Linked DNA regions of Homo sapiens: region 2 is linked to region 1. The links are contacts of gene promoters, found by promoter capture Hi-C in blood cells and fetal thymus (Javierre and others, 2016). All regions are on one chromosome and are shown on one strand. The core of a region is centred on a gene start or on the middle of the fragment in contact, and the rest is flanking DNA. Distances in the headings are between cores, read along the strand shown.

The links. The method cuts DNA at HindIII sites, captures the fragments that hold promoters and counts their contacts. A CHiCAGO score of 5 or more calls a contact.
Region 2: a contact is called between a fragment that was not itself captured here and the fragment with the promoter of GLDN in region 1, in 1 of 17 cell types (M1 macrophages). The highest score is 6.5, in M1 macrophages.

What each region holds. Positions count from the first base shown.
Region 1 is chr15:51,340,405-51,344,484 of GRCh38, forward strand. It overlaps GLDN (gliomedin), which reads left to right and starts at 1,251. Exons shown (of 10, transcript NM_181789.4): 1 at 1,251-1,643. The coding sequence starts at 1,281. RefSeq lists an enhancer at 239-602 and cis regulatory regions at 292-335, 408-432. The HindIII fragment of the contact is 3,655 bases long and covers 1-2,766 here.
Region 2 is chr15:50,973,475-50,977,281 of GRCh38, forward strand. All of the region lies in intron 15 of AP4E1 (adaptor related protein complex 4 subunit epsilon 1), which reads left to right. Among named protein-coding and RNA genes, the nearest start is that of MIR4713HG, 62 kb to the right of the region's middle. The HindIII fragment of the contact is 961 bases long and covers 2,015-2,975 here.

The sequences.
Region 1 (4,080 bases), core at 1-2,500:
GCTCATTGGCGGGGAGGCACCTCTTCCTTGAGTTATTGGGCTATGGAAACAGCAATCCTGCCTTCTGGTTGGGTCTCCCAAATGGGAGACATCCAAACAGAGTGATTTTTTTTTTTTCTTAAACAATGTCAAACCCGAGGTTCTTAACATGGGGCTTGAAGATTGCTGTCTACGTTAGTTTCCCATAGGTCCTGGGGCCCCAGGGAAGCAGAGCCATTCTAGGAGAAGCTGAGAAAGATCTTGAGTGAAGAGGTTCTCTGAGGAGACTCAAAAGTGACTCTGCATTTGGTTGACAGTGACCCTCGAGGCAGAGCAGGTATTGGGCAACATAAAAGTTGTGAGGAGTAAATGAGAGGCATGGGAAAACATGTTTTCCTAGGGCTAGGTAAGAACCCAACCATGGCCCAGCTCTCCAACCCTTAGGCCAGAAAGCACCTCCTCATGGTCTTGGGACATGCTCAAAGCCTCCCAGCTGAGTAGCAACAGAGTGGCTTTAGAACTAGGTCTCCTGATTCCTGGGGTTTTTTTCCTCACCATCCTGCCATTTTCCAGATATGGATCTCATCGGAGAGTTCCTGACTTGTCAAATCCTGGAACTCTCCTTTCAAGGACGAGTCCTGTTGGCCAGGCAGTCCTGGGCTTTTCTGGTTCTGATGGGTGGCCTTTTTTGCCTTCCAGTGCCAAGTGTCTCCTTGCCCCTATCCATCCCCTTCCTGGGAAAGATCATCTGGGGTCTTCAGTGGCCTCGTGGAGCCTCATGGCCATGGTGGGGAGTGATGCGCAGCCTGGTGCTCGGGCCAGGACCAGACCTCCCATGGACAGTGGGCACGTGCCTTAGCATCTGGGCATGCTGATCTTTTTCTCCAAGAGGGCAGTGTGGGGGTAGAAGGGGGTGGAATCCGGAGACTTCTCTCCATAAGAATTCCTGCTCTCCCCCTCAGTCTGACCCTTGCTTTGCCTGTCTGGGCCACGGCAATGCCCTCAGGCAGAGCAGTGGGAAGAGGAGGAGAGGGTTTGCTCAGCTGGCGGGACTCTGGGAGCACGAGCCCTGCCAGCCCCTCCTCCGCAGGCTGCCTCCACTGGCTCCTCTCCTGCTTCTGCCCGCCTGTCCCTCTGGGCTGCTCGGGCGCCACCACTACTGTCCCCATCCCGCCCCGCCAGCTGGGCCAAAGGGTGACTTGACTCACGACGCTGCCACCAGCCCACGGCTTGCCCGAGGCGTATAAAGGCTGCCAGGGCCGCAGGCTGCCAAGCCCTGCCCTGCCCAAGGCGCATAGAGCATGGCCCGAGGCGCTGAGGGAGGCCGTGGGGACGCGGGTTGGGGCCTGCGTGGCGCCCTGGCGGCCGTGGCGCTGCTCTCGGCGCTCAACGCTGCGGGCACGGTGTTCGCGCTGTGCCAGTGGCGCGGGCTGAGCTCGGCGCTGCGGGCTTTGGAGGCGCAGCGGGGCCGGGAGCAGCGCGAGGACAGTGCCCTGCGCTCCTTCCTGGCCGAGTTGAGCCGCGCGCCGCGCGGGGCGTCCGCACCACCCCAAGACCCGGCCAGCTCAGCTCGCAACAAGCGCAGCCACAGCGGCGAGCCCGCGCCGCATATCCGCGCCGAGAGCCATGACATGCTGATGATGATGACCTACTCCATGGTGCCGGTAGGCGGGGTCTCTGTTCCCCGTGGCGCCCCGGCCAGGTGGGCGGCTGGGGGTGTGGGGCGAGGACGCCGACGCCCTCTTCTCCCCTGGCCAGGCTGCGAGGTGCTGCGGAGAGGGCTGTGGGCATGAGTAGCTGGGGATGTCACCTTGGCAAGCACCTCAACCCACTGGAGTCTGTTTTCTCATCTGTGAGGTTGGGGACAGGGTGAAGGAGGGAGTCTCTTCTACCTCTGACATTCTTTGAGTCCACATGTAAACGAAGGGCGAAGGCAGTGTTTCTAAGAGCCTATTTTCCTTCTCAGCTTAGACAAGTTTTCGTCTCCTGGTGTGAATGGAGCCGCAGCAGCCTTGGGGCTCCGCCTGTGCCACTGACCTGTGGGTGGGGCCCTCTGAGAGGATGGAGGCGCGTTTCTGAAAGAGCGTAGGCTTTTTCAATAAAGGGATTCTTTCCCTGGCATCAACTAGTGGTCTGGCTTTTCACCTGGCATCGCCTCATTCCTGCGAGATGGCCGGCCTAATTGTTTCCGTTTAAGTGAAAACAGCCCTAGTTTTACTGCCCACCTGGGACCTAGATGCTGGGAAAGTTGCCCCTGGATCTCAAGCAATTCCAAATGAGGGACGTCAATATGGTGCAATTTTTTTCTTAAAATGCAGTGTCAAAGCTGAGGTTCTTAACATGGGACCTGCGGATTGGTCTCCCCACTGGGCTCCAGGGAGTACACGGAACTGCAGAAATTGCCAAGTGTGTGTGCCTGTGCCCTCCTGCCCATGTGGATGAGGGTCTGCAGCTTTTCACTAGATCTTCAAGGGGTCCCCCATTGCATGCCTCCCCCAAAAGGTTTAAGAAACACTGCTCTGAAGAAAGTCTTCAAAGCCTCAAAGATTTGTTTTCCAGTGTTAAGTTTCTTTGCTTTTGCCGCTTTTAATTCAATAGGTATTTAACAAATACTATTAGATCACATTGCAGTTCCCCATTCCATTTCATTATTTATTACAATTGCAACAGTCTTGTTTCACTTTATAATTAGAAAGATTTCGGCTATTACCTCCAGTCAAGTGTGAGCCATACTTCAGAATCCTAGGTATTTGAAAATAAATTGACTTAAACTTCCGTTATCACAGAAGCTTTTAAATAACTTACATGAGCTGAAATGCTTTTAAAACTACGTAAAAGTACTACATACTTCAAATACATCTTTTGAGAGAGATCAAGTTTTCCATTCCTCACTTCATTTGTTTTTTAAATTCATGTTATCATTTAAAAATCTGGACCTAAGCAGAAGTTTCAAAAAAGGACTGCTATAAGATGAAAAAAACCTCCTTAGGGGAATTCATTCTCGCCCTTTCAGCTCTCTACCCTACATTTTAAGGCTTTTAAAAAATCCTCAAAAAGGGATACATCTGAGCATCATTGTTTTACATTTTTAATCCTGCTTTTAAGGTAGAAGCTTTCGTATCCGAATTGCAACCTATTCCGTCACTAACAAATTGAATGGAGACACTCATCTCTGTGTCAAATTAACTCTAGGTGACCTCGCAGTGCTACCACTAACTCTGTTACAGGTCAGAGAGCAGAACTATCACATGTGTCAGACTGGATATTATTAGTAGATTATCATCAACTAACTCATCCCCCACCTGCAATGGGTATGTTTTGACCTTTTAGAGTCATGAGGGCCTGTCCCTGAGGCTAGGAGAAGGCAATCATCTTACTACTCACTTTCCTCTTGGGAGCAGTTCTCAAACAGTAGGCTTAGGAATCAGCTGGAAGCATATTACAGTGCAGATTCCAGGGCCTCTCCCTCAGACCTATAGAATCCTCTCCAGAATCTGCTTTATTAGAAGTCCTCTGACCCTCATCCCCCCACCTCCTATGCCATTGGTGAGTTCGGTGCAGATGGTCCAGGCACCACACTTTAAGAAATACTACTCAGTCTCTAACACTGAGTCTTTATTGTGCACAGGAATATCTTGGGGATCTTGTTAATATGCAGATTCTGATTCAGATGGTCTAAGCTGGGGCCTAAGATTCTGCGTTTCTACCAAGCTCCCACTGCTACCAATGCTACTGGCCTGAAGACCACATTTTGAGTAGTAAGGTTGCCTACTGGAACTATTTGGGGAGCTTTCAAACTTACTGATGCCTGAATCCCATCCCCAGAGATTCTGAATTAATTTGTTAGGCCACAGCCTGGGGATGGAGTGCTTATTCTCCAGCAGGAAGGACCTTGGCATAACTTCCTATCGATAGTAGCTGTGTTAGGCATCACACTCCCACCAGACCCCATCAAGGCCTTTGCTTCAGGACGAGGAGCCAATTTTATTACTGAAAAGCTTTTTAATTTATGACAGCAATATTCTTTCCATTCAGCTTCACAGTTTTCCTCATCTTTACTCTCTGCTTTTCTCAGAACAATTATTCATATAAGAAAACAAT
Region 2 (3,807 bases), core at 1,245-3,744, 370 kb before region 1:
GTTATGATTGACTGTAGATACAATGTTGTACAGCAGATCTCTAGCACTTATTCATCTTGTTTAACTAAAACTTCATGCCCATTGATTGGTAAGTCCCCATTTCTCTCTCCCCTTAGCCTCTGGCAGCAACCAGTCCATTCCTCAATCCTATGAATTTGACCTTTTAGGTACCTCATAAAAGTGGACCCATGCAATATTTTTTTGTGCCTTACTTATTTCACTTAGCATAATATTCTTAAGTTTCATCTATGTTGTCGTATATTGCAGAATTTTCTTCGTTTTCAAAGTTTAATAGTATTCCATTGTATATGTATATGACATCATCTTTATCCATTCACCTACTGATGAACATTTAAGTTGTTTTCACGTCTTGGTTATTATGAATAGTGCTGCAGTGAACATGGGAATGCTAATATCTCTTTTGGATCCTGATTTCAATTATTTGGGATAAATACCCACCCGGAAGTGAGATTGTTGGAGCATATAGTAGTTGTATTTTTATTTATTTAGAGACAGAATCTTGCTCTGTCGCCTAGGCTGGAGTGCAGTGGTACGATCTCAGCTCACTGCAACCTCTGCCTCCTGGGTTCAAGTGATTCTCCTGCCTCAGCCTCCTGGGTAGCTGGGACTACAAGCATGAGTCACCACACCTGGCTAATTGTTGTATTTTTAGTAGAGACAGGGTTTTGCCATGTTGGCCAGGCTGGTCTCAAACTCCTGACTTCAAGTGATCCACCTGTCTTGGCTTCCCAAAGTGCTGGGATTACAGGTATGAGCCACTGTGCCCGGCCATTTTTTTTTTTTTTTTTTGAGACAGTGTCTCATTCTGTCACCTAGGCTGGAGTGCAGTAGAACGATCATAGTTCACTGTAGCCTTGAACTCCTGGGCTCAAGTGATCCTACTGCCTCAGCTTCCTGAGTATCTAGGATTCCAGGTGCATGCCATCATGCCTGGTTCATTTTTAATTTTTTGTAGAGACAGAGTCTCCCTAATGTTGCCCAGACTGGTCTCAAACTCTTGAGCTCAAGTGATCCTCCTACCTTGACGTTGCAAAGCACTGGGATTATAGGCATGAGCCACTGTGTACTGCCTGTATTTTTATTTTTTTGAGGAACCTCCATACTGCTTTCCACAGTGGTTGCACCATTTTGCATTCCCATCAACAATGGGTAAGGGTTCTGACTTCTTCACATCCTTCCTGACACGTTATGTTTTCTTTTCTTTGATAATCACCATCCTGACTGGTACAAGGTGATGCCTTATTATGGTTTCAGTTTGTATTTTCTTGCTAATAGTAACCTTGAGCATTTTTTCATATACCTGTTGGCCATGTGTATGTCTTCTTTAGAGAAATGTTTATTTAAGTTATTGGCCTATTTGTGATCAGGTTATTAGTTAAAAAAAAAAAACTATTGAGTCATAGGATTAACATATTTTGGAGGTTAACCCTTACCAGAAATGTGGTTTGCAAATATTTTCTCCTATTCCATAGGTTGCCTTTTCACTCTGTTGAGTGTTTTCTTTGCTATGCAGAAGCTTTTTAATTTGATGTATTGCCACTTGTTTATTTTTGTTATTATTACCTGTATTTTTGGTGTCATATCCATGAAATTATTGTAAAGACCAATGTCATAAAGCAGCTTTTACCAGCTGGGCGCGGTGGCTCACACCTGTAATCCCAGTACTTTAGGAGGCTGAGGTGGGTGGACCACCTGAGGTCGGGAGTTCGAGACCAGCCAGACCAACATGGAGATACCTCATCTCTACTGAAAATACAAAATTAGCCAGGCGTGGTGGTGCATGCTTGTAATGCCAGCTACTTGAGAGGCTGAGGCAGGAGAATCACTTGAACCCGGGAGGTGGAGGTTGCAGTGAGCTGAGATTGTACCATTGCACTCCAGCCTGAGCAACAAGAGCAAAACTTCATCTCTTTCTATGAGTTTTACAGTTTTGGGTCTTACAGTTAAGTCCTTAGTTCATTTTGAGTTGATTTTTATGTATGGTATAAGATAAAGCTTCCATTTTATTCTTTTGCATGTGAATATTTGGTTTTCCCAATGTTGTTTGTTGAGAAGACTGTCCTTTCTCTGTTGTGTATTCTTGGTGTCCTTGTTCAATATTAGTTGACTATACATGCTTGGATTTATTTCTGGGCTCTCTGTTCTGTCTCTATGTCTGTCTTTATGCCAGTACTATGCTGTTTTGATTATTGTAGATTTGTAATATATTTTGAAATCAGTAAGTGTGATGCCTTCAGCTTTGCTCTTTTTTCTCAAGATTAATTTGGGTATTCATGGTCTTTTGTGGTTCTTCATTGGTGAATTCTACCAAACACTTAATGAATTAATATTGGGGCTGGGCACAGTGGCTCATGCCTGTAGTCCTAGCAATTTGGGAGGCCATGGTGGGAGGATCACTTGAAGCCAGGAGTTTGATACCAGCCTAGACAATATAGCTTGACCCCATCTCTACAAAAGGGACAGAGAGAGAGAGAGAGAGAGAGAGAAAGAGAGAGAGAGTTCTTTTCAACCTCTTCCAAAAATTTAAAGAGGAGAGAACATTTCTAAACTTATTTTATGAGACCAGCCTTACCCTGATAGCAAAGCCAGACAGAGCCACCACAAAAAAAAGAAAACTACAGGCCAATATCCCTGATGAATATAGGCAAAATACTAGGAAACTGAACTCAATAAAAGGATCATACACCATGATCAAGTGGGATTTATCCTAGGGATCCAAGGATGGTTCAACATCTGAAAATAAATTAATGTGATATCATGTTAACAGAATAAAGGATAAAAACCACACAGTTCTCAATAAAAGCAGAAAAAGTGTTTGACAAAATTGAATACCCTTTCATGATTAAAAAGAAACTCAATAAAACTAAGAATAGAAGGCAATATCTCAATATAATAAAGACCATATATGATAAACCCAGAGCTAACATCATAGCATGGTATGATGAAAAACCAAAAGCTTTTCCTCTGAGATCAGGAGCAAAGCAAGGATGCCCACTTGTCTCTTTTGTAGTCAACACAGTACTGGAAGTATTAGCCAGAGCAGTTAAGAAAAAGAAGAGAGGTATTCAGATTGGAAAGGAAAATTGTTCCTCTTTGCAGATAATATGGTTTTATTTATAGAAAACCCTAAATTAGACTCCATTAAAAAACCGTTAGAAGTAATAAGCGAATTCTGGAAAGTTGTAGGATGCAAAGTCAACATGCAAAAATTATTTGCATTTTTGTACACTAACAACAAACCATGTGACAAGGTTATTAGGAAGACAGCCCAATTTATGATAGCACCAAAAGGAACAAAATACCTAATAATAAACTGAAGCAAGTGAGAAAGTTGTGTTTAATGAAAACCACTGAACGTTAATGAAAGAAATCAAACAAGGCACAAATAAATGGAAATACATCCTGTGTTCATGGATTGGAAAGTACATGTATTCTGTGCAATCCCTTTCTTTTAAGGCTTTTTATATGTTATTTAGCACAGTGATAACTAATGTACTATAAAATTTAAACTCTCTTTCAAAGTGTAATCAGTTTCCTCTCATTAACTTTTTATATATTAATAGAATATATTGGGGGAAAAAGTAAACTTTTGAATTATAATTGCCTAACCTGTGGTTATACTGCATATAAATGCCTTATGACATCCAGGGCCTAGAGTGAAAAGCTCCTGGGTTTCCACAGTGGGAGGTATGATTCCGTTGTCATACTTCCTTATTTTCAGGTATCTGGGGGCCACCAGTTGCCATTACTGAAGTCAAGGGTTGGATAGGGAAGGGGAGATATAAT